Linked DNA regions of Homo sapiens: region 2 is linked to region 1. Evidence: promoter capture Hi-C in 16 types of primary human blood cells and fetal thymus (Javierre and others, 2016). All regions are on one chromosome and are shown on one strand. Each heading gives the region's core, a stretch centred on a gene start or on the middle of the fragment in contact. The rest is flanking DNA. Distances are from core to core; before and after follow the strand shown.

The links. The method cuts DNA at HindIII sites, captures the fragments that hold promoters and counts their contacts. A CHiCAGO score of 5 or more calls a contact.
Region 2: a contact is called between the fragment with the promoter of TCP11L2 here and the fragment with the promoter of FBXO21 in region 1, in 1 of 17 cell types (non-activated CD4 T cells). The highest score is 5.6, in non-activated CD4 T cells.

Annotation. Positions count from the first base shown.
Region 1 is chr12:117,185,469-117,193,061 of GRCh38, reverse strand. FBXO21 (F-box protein 21) reads left to right here and starts at 2,592. Exons shown (of 12, transcript NM_015002.3): 1 at 2,592-2,844; 2 at 3,700-3,835; 3 at 6,491-6,585. The coding sequence starts at 2,606. RefSeq lists silencers at 2,376-2,435, 2,476-2,575, 2,856-2,905 and an enhancer at 3,376-3,465. The HindIII fragment of the contact is 6,345 bases long and covers 1-3,864 here.
Region 2 is chr12:106,300,206-106,307,798 of GRCh38, reverse strand. TCP11L2 (t-complex 11 like 2) reads right to left here and starts at 5,066. Exons shown (of 10, transcript NM_152772.3): 1 at 4,858-5,066. RefSeq lists enhancers at 4,999-5,138, 5,149-5,228, 4,403-5,288 and a silencer at 5,309-5,428. The HindIII fragment of the contact is 6,335 bases long and covers 1-6,039 here.

The DNA.
Region 1 (7,593 bases), core at 1,343-3,842:
GGGAGCCGAGATCGTGCCATTGCACTCCAGCGTGGGCAACAGAGTGAGACTCTGCCTCAAAAAACAAACAAACAAACCAAAAAACCCATATCCATTGAGCCATTTCTCCCTGCTTCCCACACAGTTTTGTCAAGCAATTTTTTTTTCGTTTCGTTTTTTCTGAGACAGCATCTTGTTCTGTCACCCAGGCTGGAGTGCAAAGGCATGATCTCGGCTCACTGCAACCTCCACCTCCCTGGTTCAAGCGATTCTTCTGCCTCAATCTCGCAAGTAGCTGGGATTACAGGCACCTGGCATCATGCCCGGCTAGTTTTTGCATTTTTGTAGAGATGGGGTTTCACCATGTTGGTCAGGCTGGTCTCGAACTCCTGACCTCAGGTGATCTGCCTGCCTTGGCCTCCCAAGGTGCTGGGATTACAGGTGTGAGCTACCGCATCCGGCTCAAGGATTTTTTCTATACCAGCCACTGTTCTATGCCCCTCACATGAATTTCCTCATTTAATTCTCATGACAGCCCCAGGAGACAGGCATTATTATTATTAATTATTATTCCCATTTTACAGATAAAAAACTGGGCCTCAGAAAGGCTAAGTAACTTCCCTAGTCAAACAGCTGGTTAGACTATCGCAATCAATAGATAATTGAGAATCTGCTCTGTGCAGGGCATGGGTCAAGTAACTAGGCTTCTAGAGGTGACTCAGACACAGTCCTAGCACTGAACTCCCTTCAGATTTAGTGGGAAAGATGCATGTTGAATAGTTGTAAGTTAAGTAATTACAAGACTGCAAAATGCTGGGCAGGAGCCATATCTGGTGCTGGTGCTGGGGCGGGGGAAGGGAGAGCATTTGGAAAGGTTAAGCTGAGCCCTGGAGGAAGAGGAGGAGCTACTGGAAGGGGAGGACTGCATGAAGTGCCTTGCAGGCAGCAGGAATAGTATATGTAGGGCCAGAAATGGGAGGAAAGAGATGACCAGCCTTGCTGGGGTATGCATGGCTAGTGAGAGAGAAAGACTTCAGATAGGTAAGAAGAGGTGGAGTTTGTTGCTTTGCAACAATGTTTGGGATGTCACATTCATTTCTACGGGAAATAGGGAGCCACAGATGGCTCAACGCCATCCATTGAGAGTCACTTTACTAGTTCAGCTCTCTCAGGGCATCTTGATTTCCAAGTTGCCAGGAGTACTTCATTGGACCCTCCATGTACTGACAACAGATCCTTCTAACTGTAATTGCACTTTGAGGTTTTGAAGCAAAGACTCCATTTTTCTCACCCCTGTATCCCCAGGGCACACAACACAGGGCTTTGGCACTGAACTAAACTGATTTTTTTTTTTTAATGTGCAGATCCTGAGACTACCCTCCCAATCCTGAGTGATAACTCCCGCTTTGAAGACTCAAATCCAGGCTTTAGCACTTTTGTCTCTGTAACTTTGAACCAGTGACTGCCACCTGGAAGAACTTTGCCTTTTCTGTAGAATAGGTATAACTGTGGTACCTATTGTGGGAGGTCAGACTATGCTCCCCAAATATGAAGGATTGTTGAGCTGGAAACAATTAAGAAACCAGTACAGGAGAGCTCTCTGCCTGCCCTCTATTAGCCTAAAATCAGGGCACACATTTGAGGATTATTATTACTCCCCTACACCATCATAGAGGGCTTCCCATAGCACCCACTCAAGAATATTGTTATTATTACATCATATGGTTAAGATTACTGACAAGCAAAAGTCAAGTGGATCTGAAATAGAATCCAAGACAAGGGGCTGGGCGCGGTGGCTCACGCCTGTAATCCCAGCACTTTGGGAGGCCGAGGTGGGTGGATCATTTGAGGTCAGGAGTTCGAGACCAGCCTGACCAACATGGTGAAACCCTGTCTCTACTAAAAATACAAAAATTAGCTGGCTGTGGTGGCGGGCGCCTGTAATCCCAGCTACTCGGGAGGCTGACGCAGGATAATTGCTTGAACCAGGGAGGTGGAAGTTGCAGTGAGCCGAGATCACGGCCACTGCACTCCAACCTGGGTGGTGGCGCGCGCCTGTAATCCCATCCGCACGGGAGGCTGAGGCAGGAGAATCGCTTGAACCCAGGAGGCAGAGGTTGCAGTGAGCCGAGATAGCGCCACTGCCCTCCAGCCTGGGTGAGAGCAAGACTCCTTCCCAAAGGGGGAAAAAAAATCCAAGACAAGGGATCCTGAGCAAGCCCTCTCACTCTCCGAACCTGTTTCCCCATCTGTAATATGGGGAGAAAGTTCGCAGGGTAATTCGGAAAGGTCCAATGCGCACAGAAAGCGCTCAGCACGCGTGAGAATAGATACCATTTTTATTTGTTAATTTTAAACATTAATTACGTTTAAAAGAATCAGTGCTACTATTGTTGTCCCGGACTAGAGGCGGCTTGCGCTGCCGGCTCCAAGCACAGAGCCCAATTATGTCCTCCCTTTTGCGGCGCTGCCACCCGCGCAGCCCCCAGCCGATGCAGGGGAGGTGTGGCCCGCGGATGGGCGGAGCGATCTCAGGACTCGCCCCCAAGACCAGTAGGCGGGGCCAGGCGGGGCGCCCGGGCACTCTCGCACGCGCGCGCGCGGCGGCCCCAGGTACGCGGACAAGATGGCGGCGGCAGCAGTCGACAGCGCGATGGAGGTGGTGCCGGCGCTGGCGGAGGAGGCCGCGCCGGAGGTAGCGGGCCTCAGCTGCCTCGTCAACCTGCCGGGTGAGGTGCTGGAGTACATCCTGTGCTGCGGCTCGCTGACGGCCGCCGACATCGGCCGTGTCTCCAGCACCTGCCGGCGGCTGCGCGAGCTGTGCCAGAGCAGCGGGAAGGTGTGGAAGGAGCAGTTCCGGGTGAGGTGAGCCAGCGGCCCCGCGCCCCGGCTGCGCGCCCACCGCCCCGCGCCCCCCGGGGCCGGGCAGCCGCCCCGCTAGCTCCCCGCGGCCGCCCCGCGCGCGGACCCCACCCCGGACCCCTTCCCGCGGACAGACAGACAAAGGCCTCCAGGCCCCGGACCCTGCGGGGCCACGCCAGGCGGACCCCCGGGTCCCCAAATGGCGCATCTAGGAGCGCCTCGCAGCCGGGTCCTCCGTCAAGGGTGACGCTGGCGGCGGCGCGGCTCGTCCCTTTTGCGCGCTTCTTTTGTGCCCGACTTCGGGCTGAAATGTTTACATGGACCCAGTGATGCATCGATCGGGCGGGCGCAGCATCCCCGGGCTGGTTGTGGACGGCACAGATTTCAGCGTGGCCCCAGGATGAAATCTGGCCCTGCACACTCCCTCTGTGACCTTGGGGGGAGCGACTTCCCTTTTTTTGAGCCTCGTTCATAGACTTTGAGTGGTGGTGATCATTAGACCTACCTTTCACCGTGTTTATTAAATTAGATGATGTCCGGGAGGCACGCACGCAGGGCCCCGGCTCCTAGGAGGCGCTCAATCAGTGCTCACTGTCATTGTCATTATTATTATTGTTGTTGTTGTTACAACTGTCCCCATTTTAGAGATGGGGAATGGAGACATCATTCATGCCGCTACGCCAAGGTCACACCGGGAGTGAGTGAGTGAATGCTGGTGGGGTTTTGAACTAGGTCTCTCGCCGGGGTCCCTCTTACCACTGGACGCCACTGCTGTCCCTGTTTCCAAGGCTGCCTTGGATTCGTGGCCGCCTGCCTTTGAGTTTCTGTTAAGCTGAGGGGGTGTTTCTCTCCTCGTAGGTGGCCTTCCCTTATGAAACACTACAGCCCCACCGACTACGTCAATTGGTTGGAAGAGTATAAAGTTCGGCAAAAAGCTGGGTTAGAAGCGCGGAAGATTGTAGCCTCGTTCTCAAAGAGGTTCTTTTCAGAGCACGTAAGGATCTGTTGATGTGGCTCTAAGCTTTGGCTTGCTGGTGTATGTGTCTGGGTCTGCAGGCATGAGCTCATCCAGCTCTTTTCGTATCTCCCTTTTCAATGCTCTCACAATCCCTTACTCACTTAGATGGCTGCAAGAGTCATTGTGTCCTTTTCCTCCTATCCAACAACACGAAGCCATTTGTCTGTGCCAGCTTTACTTTTCTAAAGCCAGAGAGAGAGTGGGGGTGGAGGGAGCAGGGAGGGACCCACGCAGCACAATGTAGACGGAGTCCAGATCAGCATTATTTCTCAAATGGGTTCAACGGATTTTTTTTGCAACCCCTCCGTTATTTGGGGAATCATCAATGATTGAACACTGTAAATTTCTCCCGGTTGTTTTCCCAGAAGGGTTGACGAAATTAATGTGGTTCTTCTCTCTGGCTTTGCAGGTTCTACCCAGTAGTGAACTGCATTATTTGTTAAGGTAACAGAGGATTAAAAGCTACCTATAAATCAGAGTTATTACTCCCTGAAATGAATTGTCTTGCATTCATTATCCCTGAAAAGTTTTTGGGTTTTTTTTTTTTTTTAAGTATTGCAGAAATACATGGTGGGTTTTTTTTGTTTTGTTTTGTTTTGTTTTCTTTTTTTCTTTCCTCAAAATGTCTCATGGAAGTTTCTTTCTTTTTTCTTTTTTTGAGACAGAGTCTTGCTTTGTCTCCCCGGCTGGAGTGCAGTGGCGCAATCTCAGCTCACTGCAACCTCCTACTCCTGGGCTCGAGCAATTCTCATGTCTCAGCCTCCCGAGTAGCCGGGACTACAGGCATGCGCCACCATACCTGGATAATTTTTGTATTTTTAGTAGAGTTGGGGTTTCACCATGTTGGTCAGGCTGGTCTTGAACACCTGGTCTCAAGTGATCCGCCGGCCTCTGCAAACCAAAGTGTTGGGATTACAGGCGTGAGCCACCGTGCCTGGCCTCACGGAAGTTTCTGTATCTGCCCCTGATCCCTTTTTGTAACTCTGGAAAATAATCCACACTAATGTTTTGAGTTCAACAAACTATTCGATATTTATTTCTGGTTGGGGTTCTAGAAATAGAGCCAATCTGATTTATTTCACTTTTTTGTTTTCCTAAAGACTCCTTTGGATTCTCTAATTTTAATTACTGTTAGTTAATGGAGTTAATAATTTGAAATGTTTTCAAGGCTTTTCAAGTTTTGAAAGGGAAAATTTGAACTTTGGACAAATTTGAATGTTTTCCCCTATGGAGAATACAAATAGACATTCCTTAGTGTAATTGGTTTCTATAAATATTTATTAGTGTTAGAATAAACAAAATTTGTATTTTACTTTGGAGAAGCCATGCCCTGGCTAAAAGCATTCATAATCACAAATTGTAAATGCTGATCTGAATGTGTTTGCACATACGTAGATTTTGGTACTAGCTATGTTTGGTGCAGTTGGTCATGGACTATGAGCCTGCAACCTCCATTTCTAGTCCAGCTGGTTTTGTGTATGTTTTGAACAGTCTGTGCCTCTGTGTAATAATGATGGATTGTTGTGTTTTTTCCTCAGCTCCCCCTTTTCCTGTACCACTGCTTAATTAGAAGTATGTCAAGGACTTTGAACACAGCGGGAGCATACTTAACATTAATCTGTGGGTGGGTGATTGCTTTGGCCCGGGATCTTGGCGTTCCTGTGTTCTCAGAATGCACACAGGTTGACCTGAAATGTTCTGGCTACTTGCAAAAAGAAAACTGAGAGAAGCCATAGAATTTTAAACTCAGAAGATCTTTTTTTTTTTTTTTTTTTTTTTTTTGAGACAGAGTTTCACTCTTGTTGCCCAGGCTGGAGTGCAATGGTGTGATCTCAGCTTACCGCAACCTCTGCCTCCCAGGTTCAAGTGATTCTCCTGCCTCAGCCTCCCGAGTAGCTGGGATTACTGGCATGCGCCACTACGCCTGGCTAATTTTGTATTTTTAGTAGAGATGGGGTTTCTCTATGTTGGTCAGGCTGGTCTCGAGCTCCTGACCTCAGGTGATCCGCCCACCTCAGCCTCCCGAAGTGCTGGGATTACAGGCGTGAGCCACTGCACCTGCCGCCGCCGCCTTTTTATTTTTTTTAAAACGGAGTTTCATTCTTGTTGCCCAGGCTGGAGTGCAATGGCGCAATCTTGGCTCACTGTAACCTCCGCCTCCCGGGTTCAAGTGATTCTCCTGCCTCAGCCTCCCAAGTAGCTGGGATTACAGGCATGCCTGGCTAATTTTGTATTTTTAGTAGACATGGGGTTTCACCACGTTGATCAGGCTGGTCTCAAACTCCTTACCTCAGGTTATCTGCCTGCCTTGGCCTCCCAAAGTTCTGGGATTACAGTCATGAACCACTATGGCCGGCCAGAGCTAGTTTTCTTTACGTTAGAACTGTGAGTTGTCAGTTTCAGAAATTCCAGTCTATGAAAACATCATTGATTACAAACAACAACAAAACCTCAGTAAATTATTGTTACTTTATGTTATTTTCTACCCATGACTGGTAGTGCAAGGTAGTGTAGAATAACTGTTAGCACTGTCTTTAGTAGTGGACATCTTTATTTCAGCTCAAATTTGTGAGAGTGAGAGTTGCATCAATACTCATAATTGAGGCCTACTTGTATATGTCTTCTTCATAGGTTCCTTGTAATGGCTTCAGTGACATTGAGAACCTTGAAGGACCAGAGATTTTTTTTGAGGATGAACTGGTGTGTATCCTAAATATGGAAGGAAGGTAAGCCATAGCTTTAGCAGGGATTTGTTTGCTTTAATAAGTCCAGAGTAAATTGCTGTAATTTCTGTGTGGCTAAACCCTGGAATATGTGATTCCAAATATTTCACGCCTTGTCATAGTTACAGTTTTGAAAAGTTCTGTGTATATTAGGTAGATACACCAAGACAATTGACATATAAAGAAACCTTACAAAAATCCTTTTGGAAAGAAAATGGAATTAATGTTTAGCACTACTATGGGTCAAATACTGTGCCCCAGACCCTTGTATCTGTTGTGTTGTTTAGAAACCTTTTGGTAATAGGCCAGGCACGGTGGCTCACGCCTGTAATCCCAGCACTTTGGGAGGCCGAGATGGGCGGATCACCTGAAGTCAGGAGTTCGCGACCAGCCTGGCCAACGTGGTGAAACCCCATCTCTACTTAAAAAAATACAAAAAATTAGCTGGGTGTGGTGGTACACACCTGTAATCCCAGCTACTCGGGAGGCTGAGGCAGAAGAATCATTTGAACCCGGGAGGTGGAGGTTGCAGTGAGCCGAGATTGCACCATTGCACTCCAGACTGGGGGACAAGAGCAAGACTTCGTCTCATAAAAAAAAGAAACCTTCTGGTAATATAAATCATCCTTCCTTCATTATTACCTCTCCACTTACTATCAGATTTGCCTATCATGAATTGAATCTTTTAATTTAAAAATAATAATTTCTTAGGCATGTCTTAATTTAATGGATGATTTTTTACAATTTCTGAATTGCGGTACAAAATAATCTACTTTGTTCTTTGAACACTGTAGATCTTTGGGTGAGCCTTTCTTTTATCTTCCAGTCAGAAAACTGCGTACTTAGGGACTCACTTGATCAAGAAGAACCCCTTATGTCTTGGTTATTGCTTAAAATTTCATATACCTTTTATTTTCTGCTGTGAAGGTTAATTTCCAGTTTTTCCCTGAAAGATGAGTGGGCTTCCAGCCTAACTTTCCTGTGGAAAAGACTTTCTGTTCTAAAAGTTCT
Region 2 (7,593 bases), core at 3,817-6,316, about 11 Mb after region 1:
ACACTCTGGAGGGAAGAACAGTTTTATGTCAGGATAACACCATATTCTTCAACAGACAAACAAGGCTGGTAGTTAACATAGAACAGAACTCTTGGCACTTGTTTGACAGACAAAAACCAAAAGCGAATGGCCCATCACTGTGTGAATGGTCTTCCGCAAGTTCCTTCATACCTGCTCTTACCTTTCTCGGTCTTGAGTTTCCAAGTAAGTCACCTGGGGACAAACCTACTTGATTCAAAAGGCACTGAGGATATTTAGATTGCTTTAAAAACTATTTTGGATTATCCTTTAGACTGATGATAATGAAACCAGGCTGTATCTTTAAGAAAGGTAATACTCCTTATGCAAACTTAGATCTACCTAACCTTTGCCACTGCAACTCACAAGTAAATCAAACAACTTTTCAGAAACATCACATCTCATCATACCTGGAGGATTTAATCACTGGTCAAAGGTAAAGTCAACAGAAAAGACTGAAGATGACTCCAAGCAAAGCCTCCAACACGATAGCAGGTCACTATTCAAAGAAAAGTACTGTCATATTCACATTTTTGATTGTATTATTCCATCACTTTGTGATAATAAATATAATGTCATTTCTTCTGAGACCATCACTGGAATGCAGCAAGCATTCAAATATTTATTCAAATATTTATTGTTGAATAAATGAATGGTAGTAAGACTACTGACATTTAAGAGGTGTGAATGGGTACAAGGACTTGAAGGGGCTAGTGCTGTATTTCACTACAGATAGAGAGGAGATTGGTTTTTAATTTGCTTGTGATTCCTCAGCTCGTGTGCAGCTTTACTTCCTGATTTCCTTTCTGCAGCAACTCTATCTGCAAATAGTTCTGCACTGGTTCAGAATTGCAAAGATACACTGATGATAATACATGTCACTGAAGCCATAAGAACATTGCCTCTGGAGCTAGGTGGACTGGGTTCTTGATCCCGGCTCCTCTTGATTATTTACTGACTAGAAACAGAGAACTCGCCATTTGTAAAATGGGACAATAATAGTATCCACCTTGTAGAAGTGTTGTGAAGATTAACTGAAATAGTATCTGTCAAGTACTTAAGCTCCTAGTAAGTGCCTGACGGATGTCAACTATTATTTTATTCTTATTAAAAGAAGTTACAAGTTCCGAAAATGTAATGTCATAAAAAACAAAGAAAGGTTGAGAATATGTTCCAAATGAAAAAAAAACACTTGATAACTGAGTGCAATAGGTGATCCTAGAGTGGATCCTATACTGAAGCAAAAATGCTGTAAAGGACAGTATCAGTCAATCAATAGCACTGTTAACAATATTTGAATCTACTGTCTGTTATCCAATGTTAAATATACTGAAGTTGAAATGTACTGTGGTTTTGTATTTAGGAATAAAGGGCCATGACATATACAACTTTTTCTCAAATGATTCAAATGCAAGAGAGAAAAAATAATAAAGCACATAGAGCAAAATGTTAATAGGTGAATCTGAGAAAAAGGTAGACAACATGGTATTCCTTATACTATTCTCACGACTTTATCTGTAAGTTTGAAAGTATTTCCAAATAGAAGGTTAAAAGAGAAGATGACAGGCTGAACTGAAACTTCAAGATTCAAATTCAGAACAGTCCAACCTCTTGCAGTTTTGAAATTCTGATTGTGCCCACTGCTGTGATAGCTTAAATACCACTCTATTACAAGAACTCTTCTAGACAGTCAAACTTGTCCTGATGTCCTTCTTGAACAGTGCCTAAAGAATAAAACAGGAAATAGGCCAGAGCCCTCCAGAAAAGGCAAAATAGATAATCCTTTTTAAGAGTTCATCCCTAGGTGGGTTCCCTTTTCCTAAGTCACTGGGCCATGGTTTACAACCCTCTGTGATCTTAACTCTGCCCACCTTATTCTGCAGTGTTCTCCCACTAACCCTTCATGATCTTCTTTGCGTTCCTCAGACATGCCAAACTTCCTATTTCGGGGCACTCATACCTGCTGTTCTCTGCCCCTGAAATGTTCCTCTCCCTGATCTCCTTGTGGTTGGCTCCCTATTGTCATTCAGATTTGAAATTTAATGTCACCAACTACGAGGTAACCTTCCCTGATTGCTACACTCACTGCATCTAATGAGCCAGCTAGAGCTTAGAACACCGCTAGGGCTAGAGCAGGAGCTCAGTGAGTACAGCTGCATGAACTAATTACGCCACACTCCTATTCATAAGACACCTTGAGTTTTCCTTCTTTTCTGCCTCACTCACATTACTCATATTCCCATTACGCAGTCACTTACAGTACTACACTTGTGTGCATATCTGTCTCCCACTAGATTTTAAGCTGCTGGTGGAAGCGATGACTCTCCTCTCCAATTCCCAGTGCCTACTTCAGTGCATTTGCAAGGCACCAAAAATTCAAACTAGCAAAGACCCACAGTTCCAGGAGGTTAAAGAAACTCACGTGTAGCAAATAACAACAATTACAGCTAACAGTAATTGAGTGCTTATTATTGAGGTAGTAATAAGCACTCAATAACTGTTCTATGATAAGTTCTTTATATATTTTATCTCCTTGAATCCTTATTATAACCTTGTTAGCTAATGTATCAGTATTATCCCCATTTTATAATAAGATCCTGAGGCCCAGAGAGGTTGCGTTACTTGCCCAAGGGTTCACAGCAGTGTAGAGGCACAACTCAAATCCAGGAAGCGGATCCCTAAAACCCATGCTCTCTACCACTCCAGTTTGGCTGGAGAAAATTTGGTGTGCTGCTCATTCTTTCCACTCCCACTCTGCCAAATCCATCTACCCATCACCCTGTGGACACTTGCACATGTGGTAGCAAGCTGATCTTATCCTGGTATGGCTGCTCAAGTGCTATTCTGTGAAGGGCATCACTGAAGGAGTACGTCACCCAAAACAATTCTTCACCACCCCGCTACAGTGACAGAAAATCCTCTAGGAGGGAGCCATTCTTTATGCACCGCAAAATCCCTAGTTAGACCCCACGTATTAGCAAAAAGGTTAACTGCTTACAGTCATAAACATTTTGGAGTGAAATATTCAGATTACCCAGCAGGGCCTTGAGGAATTGAACCCATCCAGTTAAGGTTAGCTCACGCAAAAAAGAAATTTCAAGAAACTTCTAGTGTGTACCATCCTTCAACACTAGATCGAGGTCAGCTGCAAGGACAAGCCTTCACATATGTGTAGTAAAGGGAAGGGAGTCAGAGGACTAAGTCTGGGCTCTAAAGAAAAAAATTGCAGATGATGTGAAAAATTTCCATCTTCTGCAAAATGCTGCTTTAGAATCAGTCTTAAATAGCAGCACTAAAGTTATTCATCCACAGCAAAGCAAAAACCATAGAGCAGAGGGATAGGGGCCCATACCATTCATCTAGACAATACTGGTCTTCATCAAGTTAGAACCAACAAAGAGCTAGATAAAAGCCAACAAGCCAGTCACTGTCCACAAAGCAGATGTTCACGTTACACGTGGCATTACAGCATCAGGGAGAAGGATTCCTGGCACTTTTCACATTTGAAAGCACTCCTCCCACACTTGCTGGTCTGTTTTGTTTTAATACCTGTGCTTCCCCCTCTGGGGCCCTCAACCTCTCACAAAATGGCATTGAAGCTGCTTCCACACATGACTGGGTATCTTCGGCCCTGGGCCTCTTCAAATCAGGCAACTTCCACTGGCTGTCAGGGTGATGCATGAAATCCCTAGAGAAGAGAGGAAAAGGACCACGGCAGGGAGCCTCCTCAAGTGGGAACCACTGAGATTAACTCATTATCCGTTGGCAGGTAAGAAGAGCAAAGTCCCTGACTGGGCTGGTGACCATGGGTGCTGAGACACCCACTGGGGACAAGGACAACTTGTCCAGTTTCTTCACAGTTAAGGTAGCAGGACAACCATCTAAGATTTCCCAAACTTAAGTCGTTTGAGTGCCACTCTTCATGACTATTTCTACGTCTCCCTCCTTACCTTTACTATAATTTAGTAACCGCGTCTCTATCTTGACTAGATTTTTGCATTTAAATATATTTATTTTAAAAGGAAACTCTATCATTGTGAAACTGCTTACTTAATGGAACAGATTTTCTTAATAGTAACGAAAACAAGTAACTATGTTCATCCATATGCCACCTCAAATCATTGCTATTACCCCCAGTGGTGCCACCTACAGTAGCAGCTTTGGGAAGCACAAGCAACACCTGAGGGTTCAGCGTTCGAGCCCAGGCCCAATCGGCTTTTCTCCACCTCTTCCCCTTAACCAAAGGTCCCGGCAAGGGGACGCAGCAGCAGTCTGCACGACCTCACCCACGTCCTCTGGCCGCCCCTCCCCTCCAGCAGCACCAGGTTTCCTGTCAAAACAAACCCTTGGGGGAGGGGACGGCGGAGGCAGAGCTGAGTGCCGGGGAAACCACGGCAACAAATCCCAAACACACGCTGCCGGGCCCGCCCTGCCTCTACCCTGGCTCAGTTCCCTACTCCAGCCCGGCCGAGGAGTGTGGGGGAAGGGGGTGCCCTGGGCCCCTGATGGCGGGATGCCGCTGGTACCTGTCCAGCAGGATTTAAACAGCGGCGAAGCGGCCTCCGAGGCCCGAAGTCCGTGTCCACCCCGACACGCGGGGCGGCCACTCGGTGCCCCGCTCCCCGCTCCCACGCGGGACGGCAGTTCGAGGTCAAACAAGGGGACGCGGAGTGGGAAGACATGAACTAGGAGCCGAGCTTGATGGCCCCTGACCCCGCCTTCCCAGGATGGAGTTCCGAGATAGGGCAGGGGAGCCTTCGGGCTGCAGCGGTGTCCCCTCCGTTGGACCTGGCCGGTCACCTCCGAGCCGGCAACGCCTCCCCCGTGATGGATACGCACCGGGTCCAGCACGTAGACAAGAGGAGAACGGCGACGGAGTGACCCCGGGTCAGGGCTCTCTGGGCGTCCCCTCACCGAGCACAGCACAGTCACCTCGAAAACTCACCAGCCCAACAAACCCCCCCAGCCCCAGTGTCCCCCCCAACGCGGTATTTAAAGGGCCCTGAGGGACTCTAGGGAGGCAGCCACGGCGCGGCCATCACAAAACCGGATAGCGGGGGGACGACGGCGCGACGGGGCAAGGGGATCCAGGGCCCTTCAGTCTCCGAAAGCCGAGCGCTCACAGACTGAACCTATTAGAGAAACAGTCTTCGTCAGTTTGAACCAGAGAGGCCGAGAACAGCTCGGATGGGAGGGTGTTTCGGATGCGAGAGGGCACGGTTCCCCCGCGCGGCGAGTGGTGCGGTCCGGGCTGCCGGGGGCGGGGTGAGAAGTGTTTACGGAACTGAGGCCGCCGAGCCGACGGGAGCGCCCGGCGTTGGGGGCGGGGCCTGCCAGGGCACTGGGGGCGGGGCCGAGTGGGGGAGCGGGGGCTGAGCGGGGGCTGAGCGGGGGCTGAGCGGGGGCTGAGCGGGGGCTGAGCGGGGGCTGAGCGGGGGCTGAGCGGGGGCTGAGCGGGGGGAGCGGGGGCTGAGCGGGGCTCTGGGGAGGTGGGCGAAGCCGCGGGCCAAGCCTCCAGTGGAGTGCCGGACAGATCCCCTGGGCTTCCAGGCGCACTGGCGTGGACCACACTGCGAGCTCCCGGCCGCGCGTGGAACATTGAGTGCCCGCACACCCCTGTCTAGACGGGGCAATCGGAACTGGGTGCCCACCAACACACTGTCCACACTTACAGAGACAACCCAACCAACAACGCTGCTGGTGGGCTTTCCCACGCACGTCAGCCACTAACCGGGTCATCTCCAGTTGCGTCTACACCTCCACATAAACACGGGTCTAGATTTGCACCTGCACGGGACGATTAGCTCCTTGGAGTCACACCCATCCAGGCCCTCTGAAGACTTGGCGTGCGTGCAAAAGATAAAGCGTCTTACTTCCTCTAGGGTTCTTGGCAGCACCTATCTCCGGGAGAAGTTTCCACCTTGGTTAATGTAAATAACCAGTCCCAGGAGGGCTCTGTGCCGTCTGGCCTGCTGCTCAGCTCCTGCTGTGGGCGTGCTTGAGGGTGTAGAGAAACAAGCTTCCCCCAACTGTTCACATCAAAACTATGCCTTCTGCCAGGTGTAAATCGGTGCTGTATTACTTGGGAAATAGTTTCATGCAGGAACTACTTACATGAAGTTTGTATAGACTAAAGTATTTCTGTTTAGTGCCGAAATTATGTCTGGATTGTGGAGGCAGATTGGCCACCACCGTTCAAAAACAACAACAACAAACAACAGGCAACATTTTAAAGCAGGGTAGAAAGTCAGTTGTTCAGTGGTTACAACACAGACTCCTCTATGGTTCCAGTCCTGGCTCTGACATTCACTATCCATGAGATCTTGGTCTCTGGGGATAACAATGATAGCTATTTCCTTGGGTTATTTTGAGGATAAAGTGAAATAAAGCATGTGAAGTGCTTAGCAGGGTGCACAGTAAGCACTCTAAGTATTAGTTATTGAAATTCTTTGGCAAACCACTGTGGCCAAACTTAGCTGGTGATCTGTATAAATTTGTATCTGTGCCTCCTTTTGCCACTTTCCTCTCTTCTCCTAAAATATACAACCTAATAATACAGGTTAAGAGATTAAATAGAAGGTGCTGTCCCCACCTGAGTTCTTCCCTACAAACATGCTCTTATTTGTGTCATTCGTTGGATAAGTAATCAGAATGACAGAAGCCTCCAATTTCAATTCCTGCCAAATGACAACCACCACACAACTGCCATCACCACCCTAAAAACTCCACAATAGAAAGATGAACACCCAAATCCCCCAAACTTCTGGTAATTCTGTGACAATGACACATGGCAACATTACTTCCTTTGTTAGCTTTGTAAGGATTTAAGTATTGTTTTGAGCTATGACATAAGTTGGAGCAGGTGACCATGAGTCAGGGTAGTTGTCCTTTATACTGGAGTGACCAGCTGCCTGATCCTAGGCATGACACTTCTTTTAAAGTTCAGATATGTAGCTCTCAAAGCCACCAGGAAAGCAGCTTTTGTCAAAGCAAGTTCAACTGTAACATCAGAGAACCAAGCTGAGATAAGAAAAGATGCTGGAAATACTATCTTCTGTTACTTTAATGTTAAATAACTTGCTATCTGAAAACCCTTCTGTGAATTACCTGACCAACTGCCCTTGGCCTGACTTGTGTATAAAAGCACTTTGGGCCAGGCACGGTGGCTCATGCCTGTAATCCAAGCACTTTGGGAGGCCGAGGCAGGTGGATCACAAGGTCAGGAGATCGAGACCATCCTGGCTAACACGGTGAAACCCCGTCTCTACTAAAAATACAAAAAAATTAGCTGGGCGTGGTGGCACGCACCTGTAATCCCAGCTACTCTGGAAGCTGAGGCAGGAGAATCGCTTGAACCTGGGAGGTGGAGGTTGCAGTGAGCCGAGATCACGCCACTTTACTCCGGCCTGGGCGACAGAGCGAGACTCCATCTCAAAACAAAACAAAACAAAAACAACACTTTGAAAAAATGGAGTGCTGTAAAATATAAGGCAGTTCCCTCAAAAATGAGCCTTGTATCACATTGTTGCTCAGAGGGCTCAGACAGTCATAACACAAAATCTTCCCTGCTCAGGT